Regions from separate parts of the Homo sapiens genome. Here region 1 is linked to region 2. The links are contacts of gene promoters, found by promoter capture Hi-C in blood cells and fetal thymus (Javierre and others, 2016). All regions are on one chromosome and are shown on one strand. Each heading gives the region's core, a stretch centred on a gene start or on the middle of the fragment in contact. The rest is flanking DNA. Distances are from core to core; before and after follow the strand shown.

What was found. Contacts are between HindIII fragments. The CHiCAGO score rates a contact against its expected background, and 5 or more counts as called.
Region 1: a contact is called between a fragment that was not itself captured here and the fragment with the promoter of NRG2 in region 2, in 1 of 17 cell types (M1 macrophages). The highest score is 5.2, in M1 macrophages.

The regions. Positions count from the first base shown.
Region 1 is chr5:139,766,609-139,772,172 of GRCh38, reverse strand. It overlaps a transcript of PSD2 not described here. Among named protein-coding and RNA genes, the nearest start is that of PSD2-AS1, 23 kb to the right of the region's middle. The HindIII fragment of the contact is 926 bases long and covers 1,097-2,022 here.
Region 2 is chr5:140,039,649-140,045,473 of GRCh38, reverse strand. NRG2 (neuregulin 2) reads left to right here and starts at 2,175. Exons shown (of 10, transcript NM_004883.3): 1 at 2,175-3,104. The coding sequence starts at 2,405. RefSeq lists silencers at 2,033-2,372, 2,533-2,742 and enhancers at 2,041-2,710, 4,083-4,272. The HindIII fragment of the contact is 2,328 bases long and covers 2,091-4,418 here.

The DNA.
Region 1 (5,564 bases), core at 310-2,809, 270 kb after region 2:
TTTTTCCTCCCACCCAGCTGCCCTTCCACTCCCACTCCCACTCCCTCTGCCTCTAGGGAGAGGGCCTCGCACAGGAGGCCTGGCTGCTAACTGATCCCTGCCAAGGGCTTTCCGTTCCTCCTCTCATTGTCCCCTAAGAGCAAGCCAAGGAGAGAACCCACTACCTCTCCCTCACCTGGCTGGGGAAGGGTGCTGGGAGCGAGGAGACAGAAGCCCATCTCCAGTCCCGCAACACCGTTTCTGAGGCCCCTCTGCAGGCCCTGCCCTTGGAAGGGGTTGGACCGTGGTCCTTGGATGGCAGCCCAGTGGTCAGTGAAGATGCCCCCCAAGGCCAGGGGCAACAGCATCTTGAAGTCTGAGAGAACTTACTTCCCCATATGCGCTACACTGCCCCAGACCCTAAATAGCCTGTGGCACACCAGGGAGAGAGCCAGACTCCAGGGACAGCCAGACCTTGCACCAGCTGGGAAGAATGTTATAGAAAGGAAAGCAGGCTGCGGGGCGCGGTGGCTCAAGACTGTAATCCCAGCACTTTGGGAGGCCGAGGTGGGCGGATCACGAGGTCAGGAAATCGAGACCATCCTAGTTAACACGGTGAAACCCCATCTCTACTAAAAATACAAAAAATTAGCCGGGCGTGGTGGCGGGCGCCTGTAGTCCCAGCTACTCGGGAGGCTGAGGCAGGAGAATGGCGTGAACCCAGGAGGCGGAGCTTGCAGTGAGCCGAGATTGTGCCACTGCACTCCAGCCTGGGCGACAGAGTGAGACTCCATCTCAAAAAAAAAGAAAAGAAAAGAAAAGAAAGCAGGCCTGCTTCCTGCCTGCACTCCTGCGCTCAGGCTATTCAGGGCCTTACCCACCACGGCGGCTCCACCACAGAGGGAGTGCCCAGGGGTGGGGCAGCCCCGGGTCCCCAGGCCCGCAATTCCTCACCCTAAAATAGAGACTCCGCCACCCGGGCCAGTCACAACATGGGACCCAGCACAAAATGAAAATGTGGAGCTTCTTGTTCAAAAAGCAGGAGGGAAATGCCTAATAATAAAGGCGCTAAAATATAAAAGTATCTATGTATCTGTACCTAGAGATATATAAAGCTTCGCTTCTTTTCTGTTGGTCTGCCTCTAGATTTGTCATGAGTTTGTATTTGTTAAATATCATTTTAAGTAAAGAAAAATGAAAAATCTAAATGACTAGCATGAATTTTACTATTCATCTTTCTATTGTGCAATGTCAGTTTTAAATGCAAATATAAGGGTGTTTAACTCATATGCAGAATCATCAAAATCGTATAATTTGTATTCAGTACCTTGTGCACACATGTGTATTTCATCTTACCTGAAATGGTGGGAAAGGGCACAAAACTTACTCAACTGTTTTCATTTCTTTTCTTGACTTATGCACATTCTCTCAACATGCTCTGCTTTTAGCTTATGATGTGTGAGGAGGGGCTGAAAGGAAAGGAACTACAGGTTGCCTGATCTGTCCCTGTCCTAGCTCATCATGATTAGTGTCAGCGGTTGGCTTATCCAGCGAAATAACATGAGGAAGAAGGCTATAGCAGGGTTCCTGGGCCATTCATGTTTTTTTGTTTGTTTGTTTGTTTTTTTGACACGGAGTCTCGCTCTGTTGCCCAGGCTGGAGTGTAGTGCCGCGATCTCAGCTCTCTGCAACCTCCGACTCCCCAGTTCAAGCAATTCTCCTAATTCTCCTGCCTCAGCCTCCTGAGCAGCTGGGATTATAGTCCGCCTGCCACCACGACCAGCTAATTTTTGTATTTTAGTAGAGATGGGGTTTCACCATGTTGGCCAGGCTGGTCTCGAGCTCCTGACCTCAGGAGATCCACCTGCCTCAGCTCCCCAAAGTGCTGGGATTACAGGCGTGAGTCACCAAGACAGGCCCTGTTCATGTTTCTTAGCACACAATTGCCTTCTTCTTGCATCTGGCAAGTTCTGGTTGAAATGGATGGTGAGGTCCCTCAGGGCTGTCAGCGTTCCTCTTACTCAGTTGTAGACATAACAAGCTTACCTTACACTCACTTTGAGTCTTGCTGAGCCCCCACATGTGGTGGGGTCATCAGAATCCTGTGCTCACGGGCATCACCAGCACTGCATGCACACAGGAGCCCCAGCCGGCCCGCATGACACCCAGGTTCTACCTCTCTGTGTACCGCATGCTCCACTGTCCCACTGGACCCCACTTACAAAACACAAGTTCAAAGATGAAATTATGAGACATTTCAAGACAGCTACAGCAGAGCATTAAGGTAAGCAGGCCCTGGTGAGCATGGGGCCCTGTGTGACCCCACGTCAATGAAGCTGCCCCACCTCCACCCTCACCGCAAGCCAGATGGAAACTTCCAAGGAGGACTGTGGCTGGCCCAACTCAGGGCACTGCCCCCCACTGCCACCATCAGTGTCTTGAGTCCGAAGTGCAATGACTGACCCAGCCTGGGTCACAAGGCCACCCATGGCCAGGTAGGAGGTGAAGGTGGGGCATCTATGACTCACTTCACCTTTAGGGAACAAAGGTGTGTCCCTGAAGGGCTGGGCAAGTGCTGGACAGATGAGAACTCAAGCCACCACAGTCCCCTGCCCATAGGTGAGGTTCAGTACAGGAGGGCAGTTCAGGCAGGGGAGAAGTCTTTATAATGAAGGAAGGTGGGAAGCCTGAGGAGCCACAAGTGCTACAGCCTGGCTGCCCCCCACAGAGGAGCTGGGAGAGATGAGGGCATAGAGGTAGCAGGTCACATGGAGGCCCTGAGTGCCCTCCATTGGGACTTATCGCACTCTGACCATGCCACCCCTGTCTAGAAGCTTCTCTGGATTTTTGCTGTCAGGAAAATACCCACAGCCCTATCCCTGAGGCCTGAGGCCCGTCCTCCTCTCCCCCAACCCCCGCCGCCACCTGCTCTGCTGCAGCCGTAGCCCTGCTTGCCCTGGGTCTTAGGCTCTGTGCCTGTTCTTCCCTTTGCCTGGAGCCCTCTTCCCACCATGCTCCTTCTTCAGACTATGCACACTCCCTCTGGGTCCTGGCATGAATATCACCTCCTTCAGGAAGTCTTCCCCAACCCACCAGGCTGGGTCACAGGCCCTGTGCTTCTCCAACATCACTGCCTGGTGACTCATCTTCCCCTACCCTCCACCAATGACAGAATTCCATGAGGGCAGGGACTGGCTCCTGTTCAGGGCAATAGCCCCAGACCCCAACACGTAGTAGGTGCTCAATAATGTTGTTGACTGAACGCATGAGTTCACAGGCTGTGGGAGTCTGGACTCTGCATGAGCTACTGTCTTGTCTTACAGATCAGACAGTTAGTCCAGGGTGGAGGGACTGAGAGGCATGATGCACCCACCATGTTGCAGGCCCGATTGGCTCTTTACATTCCTGACCTCACTTTTTTACTCCCATCCAGCCCAGGAGGGAGGGAGGTGTTGTTTTTTTTTTTTTTTTAGATGGAGTTTTGCTCTTGTTGCCCAGGCTGGAGTGCAATGGCTTGATCTCGGCTCACAGCAACCTCTGCCTCCCAGGTTCAAGCAATTCTCCTGCCTCAGCCTCCCAAATAGCTGGGATTACAGGCATGCGCCACCAAGCCCAGCTAATTTTGTATTTTTAGTAGAGACGGGGGTTTCTCCATGTTGGTCAGGCTAGTCTCGAACTCCCTTCCTCAGGCGATCCACCCACCTCGGCCTCCCAAAGTGCTGGGATTACAGACTTGAGCCACCATGCCTGGCCAAGGAAGGTGTTTTTATACCTGTTACACAAATGAGGAAACAGAGGGCAGTGAGTGGGTCACATTCTCTTTTTATGCCCTCCTCTCCCCCACTACACACATCTAAACCGCAGCCAGGGTGACCAGCCCACTGGCCTCTCAGCCTGGAGTCCAGAGGTCCTCTTTTCTTGGCCTGTCTGGGAGAGAACTCTCTCCCAGCTGGGGCCTGTCCTATCCTTTCTCCCTCCTCTTCCTCCCCCTCCCCACTTCCTTCCTTCCTGCTGTAGGATATTCCCTTTGCAGGAAAGGTTCCAGGTTCCGGGGCAAGGCCCCCAGGTTCAGCTGCCCAGGCTGGGACACGTGCTACCTCCATCAACCAGCCCCTTTGCCCTCCCTGGCGGGGGGCCAGATATCTGAGCCAGGCCCAGGGGACAGGGGAGCACTGCACAGGGGACAGCTCAAGGTCTTCTTGTCCCTCTCTCTGCCTCCAGCCCTAGCTGAGGCAGAGGACTCTGGAACTCATCCTGGTGCCCTGGGGTCAGGCACTAGACCTGGTAGGGGCTTTGTCACTCTGCCTGTGAGCTGGTCATCACTGAGAGCCTCTGAGCAAGAGCCTTACCTCTGTCAAGCTGGTATATAACCTCTTGGATTGCATGTGCTGAATCACTTTGCACAGCACCTGGCACAAAGTGAGTGCTCAGTTAACATTATTAACAGCTCCAATCATTGTTATTATTCTCTCCAATATCATCCTCATCTGACTGAATCTTTACAGCTCTCCTGGGAAGTAGGTAGAGTTTTGATCCTCATTTTATAAATAAGAAAACTGATGCTTACAAAGACAGGAGGGGCCAGATGCCGTGTCTCACATCTGTAATCCCAGCACTCTGGGAGGCCGAGGTGGGCAGATCACTTGAGATCAGGAGTTCGAGACCAGCCTGGCCAACATGGGGAAACCCCGTCTCTACTAAAAATACAAAAATTAGCTGGGCATGGTGGTGCATGCCTGTAATCCCAGCTACTTGGGAGACTGAGGCATAAGAATCCCTTGAATCCGGGAGGTGGAGGTTGCAGTGATCTGAGATCGTGACATTGCACTCCAGCCTGGGCAATAGAGTGGGATTCTGTCTTTAAAAAATAAAAATAAAAGGAAGAAAGAAAGAAAGATGGTGGCTGGGTGCGGTGGCTCACGCCTGTAATCCCAGCACTTTGGGAGGCCGAGGCAGGCGGATCACGAGGTCAGGAGATCGAGACCATCCTGGCTAACACGGTGAAATCTGTCTCTACTAAAAATACAAAAAAAATTAGCTGGGCAAGGTGGCGGGTGCCTGTAGTCCCAGCTACTCGGGAGGCTGAGGCAGTAGAATGGTGTGAACCTGGGAGGCAGAGCTTGCAGTGAGCCGAGATTGTGCCACTGCACTCCAGCCTGGGTGACAGAGCGAGACTCTGAGAAAGAAAGAAAGAAGGAAAGAAAGAAAGAAAGAAAGAAAGAAAGAAAGAAAGAAAGAAAGAAAGAAAGAAAGAAAGAAAGAAGGGAAGGAAGGAAGGAAGGAAGGGAGGGAAAGAGGGAAAGAAGGAAAGAAAGAAAGAAAGAAAGAAAGAAAGAAAGAAAGAAAGAAAGAAAGAAAGAAAGAAGGAAGGGACTTGCCCAGACTCAAACCCAGGCCAGTCAGTGCTCTTTATCACCTTACTATCCTGATGCCTACCCCTCTATTCGCCCTAGAGCAATTCTTAACCTGCTGGGTGTCTCAGTTTCCCCAGCCAGGCAATGGCGAGGATGGAGGAGGCATCTCTAAGGACCTTTAAGTCTAAGGGAACTTATTAATCCATCGAGGTGGGGCTGCTGGAATGGGCA
Region 2 (5,825 bases), core at 926-3,425:
TGTGAAATGTTGAGTAAGTCCCCTATCCCCTCTGGGACTTTTTCTTTCATTGTAAAATGAAAGAGTGGATGTCGCTATCTTCCTTATGGTGATGTTTTGTGATTTATGAGGTCTGTGATCTATGAAAATGAAATGGGGGACACTGAAGGAGCCAAGAAGATTGGCTTGATGCCTTTAAGCGTGCCGATTTTCAGTTATTTTCTTCCTTCTCTCCTTCTTTCACTGGAGATTTGCTAATCCTTATTTTATGCCAGGCATTGTGTTGGAGGTAATAGGAATCCAAAGATGAATAGGATATATATAGTCCCTGACATTAACGTGCCTGGCCTGATGGGAGATGCAGACCCATTAAATGGCTGCTTGAAATACGGTATGGGCCAGTATCCCAACAGTAATACTATGTGTGAAGCTCATGGCAATACAGAGGAGGAAGGGATTAATTCCATCATGTATGTGTTGGTGGGAGTAGAGGTGGATATGTAGGAAGGGGGATGCGGTATAATGCTGAGCTGGGCCTTGGGAAAATAAGTTTTCCATGTGGTCAAGGTGGAGGTGAGGCTTTCTGGACACAAGAGACATCATGTGCAGAAGCACACCAAGAAAGAGCATGAAGTGCTGAGGATTGCTAGAGTGGGGGGTTGGCTCTCAGGATATGAAGCTGGCTAGGCAAAGGGAGCCCATGAAGAGCCTTGCTGAGGAGTTTGAACTTAACTTCTGAGAGCAGTAGCATGGCCAAATTGTACTTACATTTTATTTTTAGAAGGATCACTCTGGCATTGGTAGGACTGGAGATAGGTGATGAGGTGAAAGGAGTGGAGACCAGTTAGAAGGCTTAGAAGTTGTCCAGGTGAGAGATGATGAGGGCTTGGACTTAAGGTATTTGCAGCAGAGTTGGAGTGGAAGTAGATAAATTGGAGATTATTTTAAAAGAGAGACCCAAAGGCCTTGGTGATTAATTGGATGAGGAAGAATAAAAGATGAGATGAAGGGACTTATTGTAATGGATTGATGTAGTCTAAAAGAATAAAACAGTGGCATTAATAATTATAGGGGATTTGGAGTGAAGTGGAAGAAATAATGATGTTGGCTTTGGATGTATTGAGTTTAAGATGTCTCTTAGCTAGGAGGAAAGGTGTAGCTCTCTCTACTTCCTTTCCAGAATAGCAGTCCTAGCCTAAGTCACTCATCCTTGGACCAGTTTCCTGTGGAGCCCAGTGCGGTATAAAATTCCCCAAGAGCTCACTGGCATTCCTGAGCTCCACATCCTTCAAGGTTAAAAGCTGGGTGTTGAAAACTCCCTGGACCCTCATTGATAGGCTAATGGATTATGGACCTGTGTGTGTGTGTGTGTGTGTGTGTGTGTGTTTTAAATCAGATGCTGGCTCCAGTGCAGCAAACTCTTCTGCCTCTTGCAAGCATCAGCCTTGGAAACAAAACAAAACAAAACAAAAAAAACCTTTTTTATGGAGCAGCCTCTGGCCCTGACAGGCTCTGGCTCTCTGTTGGCTCCCAAGAAGCCCCCCACCTTTCTTAGAGATCAGATTTTTAAAAGATGAGGTTGTACAGTGCTCAGCCAGATCCCCACGTGGCCGCTGAAGAAAGCCCAGAGTGTTGGGGACTGGGCCCTTTCTCAGCTACCACCTCTGCTTGGGTGTCCTCAATGCTAAGACAAGACACCTTGTGGCCCAACTCTTTCCAAAATGACGGGGCTGGGATTCTCCCCCACCTCAAGTCGAATATCCAGCGTTCACCAGGCGGTGGCAGGACCGAGCACGTGGTATCATTTAGGGGCTGGGCTCCAGGGTCCTCCTAGGAAAGAGGACAGCCCAAGAGGCGAGAGGCTGGCCGGCCACCCTGGCCATGGCAACCTCTCTGGCTCCTACAGCTGCTGGCCAAAGGCAGGGGGCACGCCCTGCGTCCCATTACCACGTTCATAGGATGGTGCCAGGAGCCCGTTATCTCTTCTTCGCCTTCTCCTCACGCACCACCCCCACTGTCATGCCGATAAATCCCGGGAGCAAAGGGTGGCACGATTCCTCCCGCGCCCCTGCGGGCTGAAGGCGGGCACTAAAGCAGTGCAGTCCCAAGCTTCCCCTGCAGAAGCCGCGCTCCCTACTCGGTCCGGGGGCAGAGGGGGCGCGAGAGAGCAAGTGGGCGGGCGTCCCATCCTCCGCATCCTCCTCCAGGTCCTGGCGCACAGGGTGGGAGCGCTGCGCTGCGCCGCGCTGCGCATCGCGGCCCGCTTGCCGCCTGCCCCCTGCCCTAGCTGGGCCACCTCCCCGGGCTGCCGGTGGAGGGCTAAGAGGCGCTAACGTTACGCTGTTTCCGGTTTTCCAGCGGGCTCTGTTTCCCCTCCCAAGGCGGCGGCGGCTGAGCGGCGGAGCCCCCCAAATGGCCTGGCCAGATGCGGCAGGTTTGCTGCTCAGCGCTGCCGCCGCCGCCACTGGAGAAGGGTCGGTGCAGCAGCTACAGCGACAGCAGCAGCAGCAGCAGCGAGAGGAGCAGCAGCAGCAGCAGCAGCAGCAGCGAGAGCGGCAGCAGCAGCAGGAGCAGCAGCAACAACAGCAGCATCTCTCGTCCCGCTGCGCCCCCAGAGCCGCGGCCGCAGCAACAGCCGCAGCCCCGCAGCCCCGCAGCCCGGAGAGCCGCCGCCCGTTCGCGAGCCGCAGCCGCCGGCGGCATGAGGCGCGACCCGGCCCCCGGCTTCTCCATGCTGCTCTTCGGTGTGTCGCTCGCCTGCTACTCGCCCAGCCTCAAGTCAGTGCAGGACCAGGCGTACAAGGCACCCGTGGTGGTGGAGGGCAAGGTACAGGGGCTGGTCCCAGCCGGCGGCTCCAGCTCCAACAGCACCCGAGAGCCGCCCGCCTCGGGTCGGGTGGCGTTGGTAAAGGTGCTGGACAAGTGGCCGCTCCGGAGCGGGGGGCTGCAGCGCGAGCAGGTGATCAGCGTGGGCTCCTGTGTGCCGCTCGAAAGGAACCAGCGCTACATCTTTTTCCTGGAGCCCACGGAACAGCCCTTAGTCTTTAAGACGGCCTTTGCCCCCCTCGATACCAACGGCAAAAATCTCAAGAAAGAGGTGGGCAAGATCCTGTGCACTGACTGCGGTGAGTCGCCCCCTCCCTTTGCTGGAGAAAGGGGGGAGGGGCGAGGTGGTGGAGAATGGGGGTGGGGCGGGGAGGTGCTGCAGGTGCCCGGGCCTGGCAGCGTCCGGGCGCTGGGGGGGTGGGGCCGCCCCTGGGCAGGGCGCCTGGCACGGGTGGGTGAGGGGGTTGGGGTTGGAGAGAAGAAGGATCAGGCTCAAAGTGTGCCAGGGGTGGGGGGCGGAGGGAGGCGCTGGCCTGTGCCAGCGGGGATCTGCGGCTGATGTATGGCATGTGGGGCTGGAAAGCTGCCATCATAGCCCAGTAGCGGAAGGAAAAACGGAGAGGTCCTGGCGGTGCTGGCCTGAGGCTCAGTGAGTCAGGAGTGACCCTCGGAGGCCTTGCCTGCCCTGCTGCCGCGGGCCTGCCGTGCCCAGGCTGGCAGGGTCTGCGGGAGCAGCTGGGCAGACTCCCAGGCTGTGAAGGCCTCCGCTTACAAGTTCTCCTAGGGAATGGTCGCCCCCGCCCCCTCCTTCCTCTCCTGGGCTCGTTGCTCTGCTCATCCACACCGCTGGCGCAGGCAGAGTTGGACTTTTTCTGCTACTGTTTTCCGTCCTCCATGTGGCTCCAGTTTTTTTCTTCATCGTGATTGCCTGTCTTTGCTAAGCAGGTAGCACATCCTTCTCTTAAGACTAGCAAGCAGACACCTTTTTTTTTTTTTTTTTTTAGCTGTTTCTGGGGGAATTACAAGGTCTGTTGATTGTGATGATGATGAAAGAGAGTAACTTCTGCTGAATGCTTTAAGTTCAGCTCTAACGTCTTACTCGCCGGATGTATTTGACTGCATCTCTCATCTTCATGATGTTGGATGCTGCACAGGAATGCAGGTGATTAGAAACAAAACACTGAAATCTGTAGATCTCTGCAGCTGGGAATGGAAGTCTCCCATGTCAAAAGTCAAAGAAATGTCAGTCTAAGAGCTTTTTCTTCTTGTCCCTGAATCCAGTACTTACTTCTTAGTAAGATATTTCAAATCAAATTGTCCCACACTGGAGTATTTGGTGTAAGCCTGTCTCGTGCTTATTCAAATTGAGGTTTCGTTTTGTCCCAACTAAAGCTGAATTTGTTGGCATGCGGTATGACTTGCTGGACTGTGTAATCGCTGAATTATGATAGATGTCCTGTACTCTCATAGAAGTTGGTATGTTTACCAGTTTTACCAACTGATTCTGGGTAGTGTAGACAGGCTTTGTTTGAGTAGCAAAATATGTGTAACAGCTTATAGTAAGTTTTGCTGCCTTCATCTTTCTAGATCGATACCTATGATTTTTGGAAGCTTTCCTCCCCCACCCCCTTCAGGAGGCAAATTTTAGGAGTTTAGTGATGGGAGTATATCTAGACACTAACTATGTTAAACTGTGATCACTTTAATGAGAAGAATCTTGGCAATGTCTTAATAAGGAGGGGAAAACTTTGGGGGATAACAGCAGTTTATCGCTCTGACATTATCCTTAGGAATATTGTTGACTGCTTTTTATTATTGGTTTTATGTTCTGAAATGTTTTATAAAGACAAGTAGAGACCAGCTAAGAATTTCTAATTTTTTATTCTATTAAGTATTTTGATACTTGGGGAGTATTAAAATACTCTGAGATGCCTTGGGGAGCTGTGAAACAGTATTGTACAGTGGAAAATAGATAGTAAAAATATTTATTGAATCTTGTCCAAGGACAGCTTCTGTTTGGTTGTTGGTGAGTTGCTCCTGCATTTGCACAGTGTACATCTCCACATAATCCCTAGTCTGGGCCGCTGAGGACTTGATGGTCTTTGTCAGATAACCCCATAGAGTAACTGGCTTCTCTGCTCCCTTGTCTCCCTCCTCCTACTTTCTCCTTCCCCCAACACAATACACCTTATCAATTACACATTGTTTGTTCTAGTGGGTATTCAGTAGCTTAACAGTTGAATGCAGAAATCATGAAAGATTTGAGGGGCAGAAATATGGTCTGTTTCTAGGTTATGATCATCTCATATTATCAAAATAGCATGTGTAGTATAGTTCTTAAAAAGATACATTTAGAACTGCAATCACTGGTAAAGGAAGGGCCCTCACATATCACAAATTATCAAGGATCAGGAATGTGTATGGCAGTAAACATTTTAGAATGCAAAAAAAAATTGCTTTGAATTGATATTCAAAGGGAAGTATATAAATAGGTACCATTTTGGGGAGCCTTATATAAGGGGATTAGAAATTAAAGGACATATTTGTGAGACTTGTGGAATTGGTGATAATATAACAGAAGAGCATAAACTGCATTTTCTTGTTTTCTACTATGTGGTTAAAGAAAACATGTACTGGTAATGCTATATTAAATAAGGAAACAAAATCATCCTAACTAACCACAACACTGTCCTTGTGCTTAGCAGGAAATAACTAACAAATTCATTTTCTGTTTTCTATTCTAAAGAAAGCCCTCTGGGCCACAGGGTCATTGGGAACATTTTCTCCTTGGAGCAGATTTGCCCATTGCAAAATAGGGAAACTGGCACTTGGAAACTGTCGTCATGGCCGTTACATTGAGCAACTGAGGTTGCATTGTTGCTTTGTTTAGCTAGTTTCAGGTCTGAGTGTGTGTAGGTTCTGAGAGGTGTGGTTCTCTGGGAAGTCACCTAGAAAGCCCGTGGGTTTTTTTTTGGAGGGGGGCAAAATATGGAGGGATAATATTGTGTTTAAAAATTGGC